5 separate regions of the Homo sapiens genome follow, and regions 2, 3, 4 and 5 are each linked to region 1. Evidence: promoter capture Hi-C in 16 types of primary human blood cells and fetal thymus (Javierre and others, 2016). All regions are on one chromosome and are shown on one strand. Each heading gives the region's core, a stretch centred on a gene start or on the middle of the fragment in contact. The rest is flanking DNA. Distances are from core to core; before and after follow the strand shown. Region 1 holds the start of SHH (sonic hedgehog signaling molecule). Region 2 has its middle 64 kb from the start of DNAJB6. Region 3 holds the start of LMBR1 (limb development membrane protein 1). Region 4 overlaps LMBR1 (limb development membrane protein 1). Region 5 overlaps LMBR1 (limb development membrane protein 1).

Region 1 (2,842 bases), core at 99-2,598:
TGTTTAACTTCACAGGGCCACATTTGCAGCATCTGATGACTCCTCAGGGTCAGGATTTCCCCTCCACGTAAATAACCCTCACTCTCTAATCCTATGCTAGAGGAATCATTGCACATGAGTGGGATGGCGATTGAGAAGGGGAAGGGCATGATCTGTTTTTTTTTTTTTAAAAAAAAAAAGAAAAGCAGGGTTGAGAGGGAGCTTCAAATTTTATTTTCCTGGTTTACTTAGGACTTTTGAGTTTTTTTCCTTTTTCTGCAAAAAGTGAGGTGATTATAGACTCAAAGATTGCCACCTCCTGGGCACTGTGCCCTCTTTCTAGGAAGCCCCTCGTTAACCAGAACACTGTTCCCCCAGGGCCCCTGACCCCTTGGGCTGCAGCCCCTAGGACTGGTGGCTCCTGTGCCTGAAGACTGCTGGCCTGCTGAGCCCCCACACAAGGCCAGCTTTGCAAGGAGCCTGAATTCCACATTCAGCTCACCCCTGGCTCTGCACTTTGCTCTGATCGATCGTGGGGGTTGTGTGAGCACAGCTTCGCCCACTCGCCTGCCCCCCCCCCAACACCCTGCAATGGCCTCCACACACCCAGCGCACACACTGGCCCCCACTCTCTCCCCTGTGCTGGGGTGCAGCCCCCAGACCTGCTTTGCCCATCCACCCTGACGCCCGCAGTTCACTCTGTAACTGCCCTTGAGCACGCCTCCATCCCATTTGCAGAGCTCTACAAAAAAAAAAATGTATTAATTGAAGCACAATAAAAGAGCAGTATTTTTACATTTTTCTAAGGCACTTAAAGCATTTCAAATACCAGTGCTTTAAGTTATGGTCACTCATAATTATCCTCGGTCCACAGAGGCTGAGTCTTCAGGAGGGGCTCAGTCCTCTTTCTTCAAAATGCAGGGAGAGCCAGCCTGCACTATAAAGTCCCTGGGGAAGAAAAATTAAATAACAGCTGGGCAGCTGTGCCCCTCAAATGTGTGAGCGACTCTGTGCTTGATGACTGAAGCTTGCGGGGGTTTAAACTGTCCTTTAAAAACTTAAGTTGGTTTTAACTGAAGCACCTACCATTCCAGGGAAAGTCAGGGGGAAACGCAAGGATGTACACAAAGCCGGGAGTAACTGCTGTTACCACAAGACATGCGCTCCTCCCTCCCGCCCACCTTTATCTTAGGAAAGATTTTTTTTTTTTTAACTCGAATCCTTCAGGTGAAAATAAAGCAACAGCAGCAACAGAAAAAAAAAACGTAGTCTTCTTCAGGGTTAACATCAGAAGACAAGCTTGTGCGGCTTTGGCCAATCAGATGCGCCCCTGGCAGCTATAATATAGTGCTAAAGGCAGCCTCTCTCACAAGCTCTCCAGGCTTGCTACCATTTAAAATCAGACTCTTTTTGTCTTTTGATTGCTGTCTCGCGACCCAACTCCGATGTGTTCCGTTATCAGCGGCCGGCAGCCTGCCATTCCAGCCCCTGTCTGGGTGGGGAGCGGTGGAGAGTCCCCCGCAGCCGCGGCGGGCAAGGTTATATAGGAAGAGAAAGAGCGAGGCAGCCAGCGAGGGAGAGAGCGAGCGGGCGAGCCGGAGCGAGGAAGGGAAAGCGCAAGAGAGAGCGCACACGCACACACCCGCCGCGCGCACTCGCGCACGGACCCGCACGGGGACAGCTCGGAAGTCATCAGTTCCATGGGCGAGATGCTGCTGCTGGCGAGATGTCTGCTGCTAGTCCTCGTCTCCTCGCTGCTGGTATGCTCGGGACTGGCGTGCGGACCGGGCAGGGGGTTCGGGAAGAGGAGGCACCCCAAAAAGCTGACCCCTTTAGCCTACAAGCAGTTTATCCCCAATGTGGCCGAGAAGACCCTAGGCGCCAGCGGAAGGTATGAAGGGAAGATCTCCAGAAACTCCGAGCGATTTAAGGAACTCACCCCCAATTACAACCCCGACATCATATTTAAGGATGAAGAAAACACCGGAGCGGACAGGCTGATGACTCAGGTAGGAACCCAGCGCCGGGGCGTGGAATGTGTGGCTTTCCAGGGGGTTACGAGAAGCCGAACACTTCCAGACTTAACTCTGTTTGCTCTTCGGGCAGATAGGAAGGTGATTTCACCCGCTCCTTCCCCACCCACCTGCCCGCCCCCCATCTCTTCCTCTTCCTGGAGGAGAATGGAGGTCAAGGGTCCAGCTGGAGAAGTTTAGGGTGTGGTGGGGGTGAGGACGGTAACAGACGTGGTTCATTATGGCCCTGATTTGATGAGTCTTGCTACAATGGCCTTCCCCATCCTACCTCTGCCCTGGCTTGTAACTTGGGGAGACCTTCACTTTGGGGGCGTCGGCCCTTTCCAAGTCAGGAGTGGAAATGGAAGGAGAGGCTGGGAATCCCCCTCCCACAAACATGAAGTGGTCTCCTGGTACTGTACGAACGAACGAACGTAGCCTTGGGCATTGGAGCTCAGAGCCCCCACGTTTCCCGTTGCCTCTGTGGTTTTCTTTCCCACCACTACCCCCACCCTGCACCTCCCCACCAAAGAATTCTCAACTGGAAAAGCCAGGAGGCGGTTCTGACAAAAGGCAGGGGCTCCAGGGGAGACTCCGCCCGTCCCTGGGTGGCTGGCTGTATCGCAGAGCTGGCTTTGCGATTGCGTGTCCGCAATTGTGCCCATCAGAGTGTGAATGTATTGATATTTCTTTAAGGATGCTCTTTCGTTCTTCCAAGCCCGAGGTACCTTAGGGGAGGGACTTAGAACTTATTGGCATTGCATCACTTTAGTTTTCAACCTGCTTGCATAAGAATTAAGAGCGAATAAATATTAGTGTGGGGGGAGGGGAAGCTAAGCAAAATATGAATT
Region 2 (2,842 bases), core at 170-2,669, 1.5 Mb before region 1:
TTGCCCAGGCTGGTCTCAAACTCCTGGCCTCAAGCGATCCACCTGCCTTGGCCTCCCAAAGTGCTGGGATTACAGACATGAGCTCGGGTGCCTGGCCAGGTTTCCCTTCTCTACTGTAAACCTAGTAGAAACTGCTGGCTTGCTGCTGTGTGTGTAACATTTGAGGAACTAAGGCAATGGGATGTTAAACTTTAACATTTCTGCTGGGCACAGTGGCTCACGCCTGTAATCCCAGCACTTCGGGAGGCCAAGGTGGGCGGATCGCCTGAGGTCAGGAGTTTGGGACCACCCTGGCCAACATGGCAAAATCCTGTCTCTATTAAAAATACAAAATTAGCTGGGCGTGGTGGCGGGTGCCTGTAATCCCAGCTATGTGGGAGGCTGAGGCAGGAGAATTGCTTGAACCCAGGAAGCAGAGGTTGCAGTGATCCAAGATTGCACCACCGCACTCCAGCCTGGGCAACAAGAGGGAAACTCCATCTCAAAAACTTTAACATTTCTCTTAAAAGGTCAGCTTTATATTGCTATTTTATTAGCCACTTCCTGATGAGGAGACACAAGCAGTGCAAGCCTGCTGACTCTGGTTGCGGGGGCAGGCACCCGGGTGAAGATCACCTTCCAGAGCGCCGGGCGCCCTTCCACACGCAGTGCCCACTCCTGACCACCAGATGGAGCCCACGCACTGCCCAGGACCACGAAGCCGACCCGGGGTCTGGAGCAGGCCAGGCAGGCACTTGCTGGACACGTGGGCAGCTGCCCGCAGTGGGACCACCAGAAAGGCGGTGCCTGGGCGGCCTGCACCGGGCGCCCACTCCTACCCTGAGCTAGGGCCGGCTGGCAGCCGCAGGGAGGCTCTCGTGAGAAAAATGGGGGTCCAAGAATTGAGGGTAGGAACCATACAGGGGCTAACTTGAAATTTACCTTAGTTAGCAAGACTGTTCTCCATAGATGTAGCAAATCCATGCACTCAACCAGTATTTACTGAGCATCTGCTGTGTGCAAGGCGTTATTCTACATGCTTGGTAAACAGCAGTTTACTAACCTCCCACCCTCCATGAAACTTACATGGTGGGGGAGAAAGGAAGTAATAGGTGAGTGAAGTACATGGTGTATTAGATGAAAATCAGCACTCTAGAGAAAGATACCAATAAGAGAGGATGGATGTGCTGAGGTCAGGGGGGCTGTGTTTTAAATAGGGTGTGGCAGGGGAGGTGGCACTGGGCAATAAACTGCTGTACAACACGAGATCAGCCATGCGCCACAGCACAGCACACATCCCAGGGCCCCAAGCCGGGGAGGGGCGCGGTCTGATGGCACCAGGGGCGAATGACAGGGTCTCAGCTCTCCCTGAGCTGGGGACACACTGGAAGGTCTTGCCCAGAGTGTCATGAACTGACTTGAGGTCAGGGTCACTTTGGCAGTGGGCAGGAACTGAGGACGGAGGACACTTTGCTGCAATTCTAAGCCAATGGCTTGGGACAGGGAGGGGCAGAGAAAGCGGCAGGAAGGCCTCAGGTGTTGTTGGGAGGGTCTGTGATGCAGTGGTAGGTGTTGAGTGGGAGAAGGCCAGGCTGACCTGAGGAGGGCCAGGTGCCTAGGGACAGCCCGCGTGTCGGGAACATAGAACGCAGTCCGGACTGGAGTCTCACGTCTGGCTCCGGGCTGCAATTAGCCTCTAGAACCCATCATTAGCTTATAACTGAGGGCCTTATTTTATGTTCAAAATACTGAGCTGAAGATCTCTTGACACCAGTTTTACGGTTCAGATAGGAGCTCCCAGCACCAGCCTCATCTTCCCTGACCCCCGACTGGGCAAAAGCAAACGTAGAGGCTCGAAGGGCTGTGGGCCAGGCCACAGCCGAGCAGTCGGCAGCTGTGCCACAGACCATCCTCCATGGAGCCTGGATGGCACGTACAGCTGGAGGTTCCGGCCCAGGTGCTGCGGGTATCAGGACTCCCTGGAGCACCAGAAATGAACTCCAGGCAAATCAGCTGGAATGCCCTGCAACTCCCAACCTAGAAGTTTTTAACATTGAAAGGATTTTTTGAGACTGTCTAATTGTTTTCCAGAAATCACCTGTGAAGGATTATCCAGGACACTATAAAAAATACAGACTGCTAAGCCCCAACCCCTAGAGACACAATGGCCTTCAGGAAGGGCCGGGAACACTGATCTCATGCACCGCTCGTTTTACTGAGTCAAAGGAAAGGCTTGTTTGCGTCTGCGTGGGCAACAGCCAAGTACAACCAGAACACGTTTCGAAATCCCCACGGGTCTACCTACCACACTTAAATCAACACAGCCAGAATGGGGCTGCCCAAAGAAACAGGCCACGTCCTGACTCCAGGACATGTGTACATACATGGCCTTATTTGGAAAAAGTCTTTGCAGATGTAATTGAGGATCTTGAGATGAAGTCATCCTGGATTACAGGGGTGTCTATAGGAAAAAGGCAGGACACTGGAGACAGGGGGAGAAGACACCAGATACCAGAAGCTGGAGGAGACAAAGGGTTCCTCCCTGAGGCTGTGAGGCCTCCTGATCCCTGGAGGAGAGAAATGCTGCTGCTTTAAGCCACCTGATTTGTGGTAATTTGCTACAGCAGCCACAGGGAGCTGATGACCATGAACACGATACCATTTTAAGAAAGACTACCCCCCTCACACTTGAATGAGCTCTAACAGCTCTGGTCCTGTCAAGTCTGTGGATGCAAGCACGACAGCATCCATTCAGTCATCACCTCAAACTCATCAGTCCATCGGCGCCATCCCATTACCTAGCACGGTGCGTACGTGGAGTGACGCTGGCCAGTTCACATGCGGGTCCTGAGCTGTGAAGGCG
Region 3 (2,842 bases), core at 1-2,500, 1.1 Mb before region 1:
AGATTCATAAAAATCTAAACAACGGCCGGGCGCGGTGGCTCAGGCCTGTAATCCCAGCACTTTGGGAGGACGAGGTGGGCGGATCACCTGAGGTCAGGAGTTCAAGAACAGCTTGGCCAACGTGGTGAAACCCCGTCTCTACTAAAAATACAAAAATTAGCTGGGCGTGGTGGCGGGCGCCTGTAATCCCAGCTACTCGGGAGGCTGAGGCAGGAGAATCACTTGAACCCAAGAGGCAGAGGTTGTTGTGAGCAGAGATCGCCATTGCACTCCAGCCTGGGCGACAAGAGTGAAACTCTGTCTCAAAAAAAAAAAAAACAAAAACAAAAACTAAATGACATTTGAAAGCAATTTGTAGATTTTCACACTTCCTAAGAATTCTCAAAGATGCCAAAAACAAAAATCGCAGCCACTAGCAATTTAAATGACTTCCTCGTAGCCAAATAAATCCTAAGGTAAAATTATAAACATTCCCTTAAATTCAAATTTTATAACAAAAAGAAAGATAATAGGGAACGGAGGGTGAATTATTGTGTTTGATATATTTGGCGGTGAAAAATACATATATTACGTGCTGTTTAGGGTCCACTGAGAGTCATAAAACTGACCCTAGTGACCGAGCTACCGGAAGGACTTGGCAAGGGTCTAGCGAGCTCGGTTATCTGCGTTTTCCAGGTGGGGCAGCCCAAGACCCTTCTCAGACCCAGAGAAGCTGGGTTTCCGCCCAAAGCCCGGCCCCAAACCACCGATTTCCGACCTTTCAACCTACTTTGGCAGAGCAAGAGTTTCCGCGGGAGACTCCCTGCTTCCCTCTGCCCAGGTCCCCTGAGGCCGAGTGCGGTACTGAGTGCTGAGTAAGGGGTGCCGAGTGCCAAGCACTGAGTAACTGGGGGAGGGGAACCATGCAGCTGTCATAAATAATTAGCTCCTGTGAGGAACAGGAACTCCGAGACTGCGGCCGGGCCAGGTGGGCAGAGGTCGCAGCGCCCTCGCCGCGTTCCCCGTCCCCATCCGACGCCAGGACAGCGCCTCCTTAACTGGGGTAGCCCCTGAGAGCGTGGGCGGAGCCCCGCCCCGCGACCTCAAGGCCCCGCCCCCTCAGCGCCTCCCGGCCCAGCAGCTCGGAAGACCGCGAGGCGCGCTTTTCTGACGCATCGGCGCCTTTCGTCTGACGTATGCCTGCACCGCCCCCTCCCCTCCCTGCCCCGCCCCCGCCCCGCCCCCGACTGCGCGGCGCCCGCCCTCCCTTAGTCAGAGCTGCTCGTCTGAGGCTGCTGAGGCGACGGCCGGTGTCGTGGTCGCGGTACCTGTTCCAACACGGCTCGCGGGCCCGTGCCGGCTCCGGTCCCCGGCGCGGCTGTCCGAGCCCCTGCGGCGGGCGGACGATGGTGTGGCGGAGCACGCGGACGCGGGCGGCGCGGCGGCGGGCATGAAGGAGGATGGAAGGGCAGGACGAGGTGTCGGCGCGGGAGCAGCACTTCCACAGCCAAGTGCGGGAGTCCACGGTGCGTGGGGACCGAGGCAGCCCTGACAGTCCCGCGTGCCCGCCCGGGCCCTCCGTCCCCGCCCCCGGGCCCCCGGTCCCCGGACCCCTCACCTCCGGGCCTCGCCTCGCGCCTCCCGCCCCGGCCTCTGCCGCTCTCCCTCCCCACCCCTCCTCTCCCCTCCCCTCCCCTTCCCTCCCCACCTCTCCTCTCCCCTCCCCTCCCCTTCGCTTCCTCTGCCTGCCCCCCCGCTCCGCTCTTGCCTCCCCTGCCCCCTCGCGCTCCCTCCGTTCGAGCCCCGACCCCGCCCCCGCCCCGCGGCCTCGGTGCTGCCCTTCCCTTCCCGCGGGGAGGGCTGCGGTGCGCGCCGCGCTCTGGGACCCCAGGGGCTTCCTCTCTGGGCGGGTGTGCGGCTCGCGCCTCGGGGTGTGGACGGCGGCCCCGCCAGTGCGCGCCCCCGCGCTCCGCCGCCAGGCCAGGTAGGCAGGTGGATGCGCAGGCGTCCCGGAGAGCCTGGGTGGGCCCGGCGGGTCCGGGAAGGGCCGGGCTGCGCGGAGCCCGCCCGCCTCTCGCGTTTGGACCCGGCCGGTTACCTTGTCCCGGTCAACACCTCCTGCCCTCCTGGCGCCTCACGTTTCCATCCCTCTTTCATCTCCCCCAGCCCCCACGTGGGTTGAGTTCGAAACCTTACCGTTTGGGATGAGAATATTGGTTATTTTTGGGAGTGAGGACCTCAGCAAAAGTCCATTTTGCTATGGAAGCAACTTCTTAGGGAAGCAGCTTCTTTTTTGGCCCATGTTCCATGTGTGCTGTTGGCAGGAGTCAGGAAGCGGACTTGACCTTGGAAAGTCTACTTTGATGTTTTTATCTTTTCATGATGCTCTAGAATGTATTGTAATTGGGTTTATCTGTGTTTTCATAACTGTTGTAAAATATGTCAATTTTTTATGTTTATATTTACGCCTCTCCTAAGTTGTCTACGATTCAGTCACACTTGGTTTGAGGTGAAAAAATTCTGCTTTAGAATTATCTAATTTGTGTACTCACTGATCTTGAAAATTGAGAATCACTTTGGAAGTCATACTTTGAATAAAGAGGACATATAAAGTCTGAGCTGGTGGAATTTGAGTTAGTGGAATTTGGTACACATTTAGTTGTAATTTTTATAATTGAAGCTAAAATACACAGAGATAAGTTCATGTAATCATACATGTACCCTTCAGATCATTTCATACTAAACACGCCTGTGTACTCCTGAATCCACCAGGAGTTTGAGACTGGTCAGCCTGGGCAACATAGTGAATCCCCATCTCTACCATTATAAAAAAATAAATAAATAAACACAATTTTACTAGGAT
Region 4 (2,842 bases), core at 237-2,736, 1.0 Mb before region 1:
ACCAGTGACCTCCATGGTGCTAAATCCAGCTGTTAATTCCCAGTCCTCATCTTTCTTGGCCTGTCAGCAGTGTTTGACACTGTCGATGATTCCATTTTCCTAAATAAACTTTCTTCATGTGGCTTTCAAGACATCTAGTCTCTTGGTTTGCCTCCTCCCTTGCTGACTGCTGCTTCTCAGTCAGCTTTTGTGAATCCTTCTGCCAAGCTGATTTCTAAATATTTGAGAGCTCTAGGTCTCTATTCTCAGACTTCTCTTCTCTGGCTATACTTACTCCCTGGGATGGAAATCTCGTCTAGTCTCAGGACTTTAAATATCATCTGCAGATGATTCTAAGGTTTTAAAAAATTTATGGCCTGGCCCTTTCTTCTGAATGGTACAGATTTTTATCCAACTGCCCATCCAGCCTCTTGACCTGAGTGAATTATATGTATGTCAGATTCAACAGTGTTAAGCTATACTTATTTCTCCCTCAAAACTACTCCTCTTCTAATCTTTCCTGAGTCCTGAAATGGCAACTCTGTCTTTCCAGTTTCTCAGGCAAAGAACCTTATATTTATTCTAGCAAATCTTATCATGTCTGCTTTCAAAACGTGCCCAGAATTCCATGTCTTCTGAGCACCTCCTTGCACAGGTCCGAGTGGCTGCTCTCGGCTTCCTGCAGTTCTTTGTTGCCTGCTCTCCTTGCCTCTGTCCTGGCCCTTTTCCAGTTTCTTTTCTTTTTCTTTTTTTTTTTTTTTTTTTTGAGACCGAGTCTTGCTCAGTCGCCCAGGCTGGAGTGCAGTGGCACGATCTCGGCTCATTGCAACCTCTGCCTCCCAGGTTCACGCCATTCTCCTGCCTCAGCCCCCCGAGTAGCTAGGACTACAGACGCCCGCCACGACGCCCGGCTAATTTTTTTTTTTTGTATTTTTAGTAGAGACGGGGTTTCACCATGTTAGTCAGGATGGTCTCGATCTCCTGACCTCGTGATCCACCCGCCTCGGCCTCCCAAAGTGCTGGGATTACAGGAGTGAGCCACCGCGCCCGGCCTCCAGTTTATTTTCTGCATAGCACTTATAGTGAGCCTTTTGCACTGTGTCAGATCCTATCACCCTCTACTCAGAATCCTACAGTGGAATTCTGTCTCACTCAGGGTAAAAACCGACACACAGTACCTGAGTCTTGCGTGACCCGAATAGTGGGCTCCCATTATTTTCTGACCTTGTCTCTTACTTCTGCCCACTCATTGTTTGAGCACACCAGAGCCATTATTGCCTCCGACCCTTGGCACTACTGTTCTCTCTGCCTCAAATCCTCCCCCGTTCCTCTAGATTTCTGCATGTCTTGGCCCTTCTTGTCCCACAACTCTTTCCTCAGATGTCACCTTATTAGTGAGACATGCCCCCACCCCTGCTGGCACTTCCTGTTCCTCTAACGTTGCATAATTATCATACGACACACTTTATATTTATTTATTGTCTTTTTCTCGCAGTGTACTGTAAGCTCCATGAGGGCTATAACTTTGTTCACTGCTATGTCCCAGTTCCTAGAAGAGTGCCTGGTATATAGCAAGCCCACAGTAAAAATTGTTTTTATTTGAATGAATAAAATGTGAATGAATTTAAATCAGCCTCTGTCCTAAATATTAATTCCCTTGGTCATCGAATCTCTCTGACTTTAACCTCATGATTCACTGTGTTTCTGTCTTCTCTCCATTGCTCTTGTAGCCTTACTCAGACTTCATTCCATTGTAAACAATTTCCCCTTATTCTCAACTTCTTAGAAGACCTCTCCATTTACATTTCTTCTCCAAGAGCTGGTTTTCCTCTTTGGCCCATCTTCTACACTCCAGATAATTTTGGGAGAAGGTAGCGATGCTGTTGACATTTTCTTGTCTAGCCAGTGTTCCCAACAGGTACGTGGCTTCCAGTGGCAGGGAATCTTTGATGCCCTTTGGTCCTTTTGGTTGCTGTCAGTACTGTCTTCTGTTTCTCTCCCTTGTGTATTGGGAGAGCTTTGGCACACAGCTAGTAGTCTTCTTCATTCTCCGTTTGTCATTCCTACATGATGATGTGCAGGGAATGTCCACTATCCTGGTCCAAAGTTGTTCTCAGTCATATGGCCACCAGTACTTCTTCAGAAATACACACAAGGGATATTCTCTAGACTTCATCATCACTCAGAATGGTTTCATTTGAGAGTCTTCAATTTTTTTTTCCATGTTCCACAACAAGCTGTGGCAAACCTTTATTTCTAGCACACAGTCTTTGACTGTAACGAGATCTCCTGTTGACCCATCCTTTTTTGTCGGTCTGGCATTCCCCAGATCTGATAGAAATTCAATTGAAATTAAACAATTAACCTGATTAAAAAATGGGCGGCTGGGCACAGTGGCTCACACCTGTAATCCCAGCACTTTAGGAGGCTGACACAGGTGGATCACCTGTGGTCAGGAGTTCGAGACCAGCCTGACCAACATGGTGAAACCCCGTCTCTACTAAAAATACAAAATTAGCCAGGTGTGGTGGTGTGAGCCTGTAGTCCCAGCCACTTGGGAGGCTGAGGCAGGAGAATCACTTGAACCTGGGAGGTGGAGGTTGCAATGAGCCAAGATCGCGCCATTGCACTCCAGTCTGAACAACAAGAGTGAAACTCTGTCCAAAAAAAAAAAAAAAAAAAAGCAAAGGACTAGAATAGATATTTCTCAAAAGAAGACATACAGATGGCCAATAGGTATATGAAAATGTGTTCAACATCACTAATCATCAGGGACATATAAGTCAAAACCACCATGACCTATCACCTCACATCTGTTAGGGTGGCTGTAATCAAAAACACAAAAGATAACAAGGGTTGATGA
Region 5 (2,842 bases), core at 177-2,676, 1.0 Mb before region 1:
TTCGTCATTTTAAAGGGTGGAACCATTTATCCCTCCAGTGACTTGCTACCTGCATTTTTTTCAGATTTGCAATAGAAAACAGCTGAGTTGTTCCTCAGGCACCAAACCCACCCTGTCCTCTTTGTGAAACATTTCACTTCACCAGTAAACTGTTGTTGAGCATCTAGAGGATTTTTAAATTTTCATTATTATTTGGGTTTCTGACAATTTCTTTACATGGAAATTAGAATGAAAATTATTAGGCTAATGAGTATTAATTGCTAAACTGTTTTCTAGAATTACTTGTTTATATTCTCTTGATAGACCATGAAGGTGCCTCTTGTTTTTAGCCATAAACTTAATAACAGTGAATATTAGTATCTTTAAAATCTTTTCCATTTTCATGGGTAGAAGGTAGTTTCTCATTATTGTAATGTTAATTTAAAAAATTTTTAGTCAGATAGGACATTTTAATTTTAATTTATAAAATATAGAAAAATATCTAATACATATATCATTTTATTTTTATTTATTTATTTTATTATTATAATTTTTTTGAGATGAAGTGTTGCTCTGTTGCCCAGGCTGGAGTGCAGTGGCGCAGTCTTGGCTCACTGCAACCTCTACCTCCCGGGTTCAAGCGATTCTCCTGCCTCAGCTTCCTGAGGAGCGGGGACTACAGGTGTGTGCCACCACGCCCAGATCATTTTTATATTTTTAGTAGAGACAGGGGGTTTCACCATGTTGGCCAGGCTGGCCTCAAACTCCTGACCTCAAGTGATCCACCCTCTTCGGCCTCTGAAATGCTGGGATTACAGGCATGAGCCACCGTGCCCAGCCCATGTATATTTTATTTGATTAATGTCCTTTGCCCTTTTTTGTGGTTGTTGCTTTTTTCATATTGAATTTATGATCTCTTTGTTTGAACACATCAGCTTTTCATTTCAATTTTTTACATGTTTTTCTGATTGTTATTTTGCTTTTTAATATTAATTGCTTTTTTCCAGAATTTGAATATTTTTTATAATATTTGGTTTTTCTTTTTCTCTTGGTGTCTCTAATTGTTTTTGTGTTTAGAAGATTGTTTCCCACCCTGAGATATGACAGCTAGTTGTCCCAATACCATTAATTGAATATTCTTTTCTGTACTGATTTTTTATGCTTCATTTTCAGTAAGCTAAATATTATATTAGCGTTTGTTTCTGGGCTCAGGTATGCAGGTTTTGGAGTCAGATAGACCTGGGCTTGAATTTCAAATCTGTCTGAAACCCTTAGCAACCTTGAGCATATTGTTTACGCTTTCAGAGTCTCAGTCTTTTATCTATAAAATGACCATATCAAGGTCTAGTTTATAGAATTATTATATGTAGTAAGTGGAATATATGTATAGTATAAAGTACCTAGTCTATTGCCTGGTGGCCAAGAGTAAGCAGGAAATAAATGCTGAGTTTTACTTTCTGTTTTTTCCCTCTGGTTTGTCTGTCTATTCCTATGCCAGTGCCATATTGTTTTAAAGACTGTAGTTTTGTAATACTTTGCTCCTACTAGGTTTTAAAAAGTTCATACATTTTATGAAGGTTTTCGTAAGCAAAGGCATGTATTTTGTGCAATATGGGACATTACAATGCTATGGAAATTTGTCTTTTAATTGTTTTGTCTGTGTTAGGGAAATGTATGTGTATAAACATGTTCGTGTGTGTTTAAATAAATAAATATTTGGTGGGGAGATTTGGAAAACAAAAGTCACAGTTAGCAGATTGGGTCCTTAGCAGTGGCTGTAGCCAGGCCAGCCTTGGTGAGTAGAAGGTGCTGGGTCCATGTATGATCTCCGTCCCTACCATCATGGTGACTTTGTTCCTGAGCCCATTGGGCAATGACAGGGGTGGCTGGGGAAGGAGGCTGACTAGTATCCACAGAGCCAGTCAGCCTATCCACTTAATTATTAAAATCTTCCTCTGCTGAGGTCACCCTTTGGTGAGCATTCACATGGGACACAAATACTTTCACATTTTTTTCCCATTCAAAGAGGTCTGTTCATGTACCTCATCCCAATTTTCTTATTTCCAGTTTTCCAATTGTGTTTCTTCAAGACTCTGAGCATCTGGCCAAACCATTGGCCATGGTCCATTAATATGTAATAATCACACATTTGGCTATTTCTCTTTCCAAGCAAAGCAAACCACCAGATGTACAGCCCATAGATCTGCCCATCGGAGAGTTTCCCTTCACCGCTGTCCTTTTAGGGATGTTCCAGAAAGGGGCAGTAGTGCTGCAGTTGTCCACTAACGTGGGGGCCTGCATATCATGCAGAACCATCTGTAAACCAGGCCCAGGTCTTCCTCCGTCAGCTGATTTTAGGGAACTCTCCAGGAGACTGTAGGTGCAGGCTGGGAGAGAGAAGGCAGCGTAGCGGGAGTGGGGACCGTCGGCATTGGCGGCACTTCTTTATGTAACTTGTGCCTTTAGGGCCTACTTAGGCCCAGACATGTACCACTTCCATTTGATGATGGAATGCTGCTGTGCACACCCAACTTTCTGGCTTGGTGGGTCGGAAAACATTCAGTTCATGATGGGCAACTCAGGTCCCATGGTAACTTGGTGGTCCATGTTTCAGCATTCAATCCCTACTAAAGCCCCATAGTGGGTCAAGAGCTGTTTCTCAAAGGCAGTTGTTACCCACAAGGATGGCAGGGCGTTGCCCCAACATCCTAAGGGCCTGTGCTGCAGTTCACCTTGAGAGGAACCTGCCAAAGGCTCCACACAGCATGCGTCTCTGCCTCTGCCCTTTCAGACACCCTTGGATCTGCTGGGTCATGTGGCCCAGGAGGCAGAGCAGCCTGCACAGAGCCTGGAGCTGCCGCAG

Evidence for each region. Contacts are between HindIII fragments. The CHiCAGO score rates a contact against its expected background, and 5 or more counts as called.
Region 2: a contact is called between a fragment that was not itself captured here and the fragment with the promoter of SHH in region 1, in 1 of 17 cell types (naive B cells). The highest score is 5.4, in naive B cells.
Region 3: the fragment with the promoter of LMBR1 here is called in contact with the fragment with the promoter of SHH in region 1 in 1 of 17 cell types (M1 macrophages); the score reaches 5.4 in M1 macrophages.
Region 4: a contact is called between a fragment that was not itself captured here and the fragment with the promoter of SHH in region 1, in 1 of 17 cell types (total B cells). The highest score is 5.0, in total B cells.
Region 5: a fragment that was not itself captured here is called in contact with the fragment with the promoter of SHH in region 1 in 13 of 17 cell types (M1 macrophages, megakaryocytes, total CD4 T cells and 10 more); the score reaches 9.5 in M1 macrophages.

Annotation. Positions count from the first base shown.
Region 1 is chr7:155,810,969-155,813,810 of GRCh38, reverse strand. It overlaps SHH (sonic hedgehog signaling molecule), which reads left to right and starts at 1,348. Exons shown (of 3, transcript NM_000193.4): 1 at 1,348-1,988. The coding sequence starts at 1,689. The HindIII fragment of the contact is 3,572 bases long and covers 1,281-2,842 here.
Region 2 is chr7:157,271,560-157,274,401 of GRCh38, reverse strand. No RefSeq gene overlaps it. Among named protein-coding and RNA genes, the nearest start is that of DNAJB6, 64 kb to the left of the region's middle. RefSeq lists enhancers at 1,049-1,818, 2,133-2,427, 1,819-2,587. The HindIII fragment of the contact is 5,840 bases long and covers 1-2,842 here.
Region 3 is chr7:156,891,591-156,894,432 of GRCh38, reverse strand. It overlaps LMBR1 (limb development membrane protein 1), which reads left to right and starts at 1,250. Exons shown (of 17, transcript NM_022458.4): 1 at 1,250-1,505. The coding sequence starts at 1,440. It overlaps LOC102723795 (a long non-coding RNA gene), which reads right to left and starts at 1,035. Exons shown (of 4, transcript XR_928253.3): 1 at 770-1,035. RefSeq lists silencers at 1,029-1,608, 1,659-2,158. The HindIII fragment of the contact is 17,725 bases long and covers 1-2,842 here.
Region 4 is chr7:156,838,868-156,841,709 of GRCh38, reverse strand. The region is part of intron 1 of LMBR1 (limb development membrane protein 1); the gene reads left to right. Among named protein-coding and RNA genes, the nearest start is that of LMBR1, 53 kb to the left of the region's middle. The HindIII fragment of the contact is 5,299 bases long and covers 1-2,842 here.
Region 5 is chr7:156,820,806-156,823,647 of GRCh38, reverse strand. The region is part of intron 4 of LMBR1 (limb development membrane protein 1); the gene reads left to right. Among named protein-coding and RNA genes, the nearest start is that of LMBR1, 71 kb to the left of the region's middle. RefSeq lists an enhancer at 2,460-2,842. The HindIII fragment of the contact is 4,162 bases long and covers 1-2,842 here.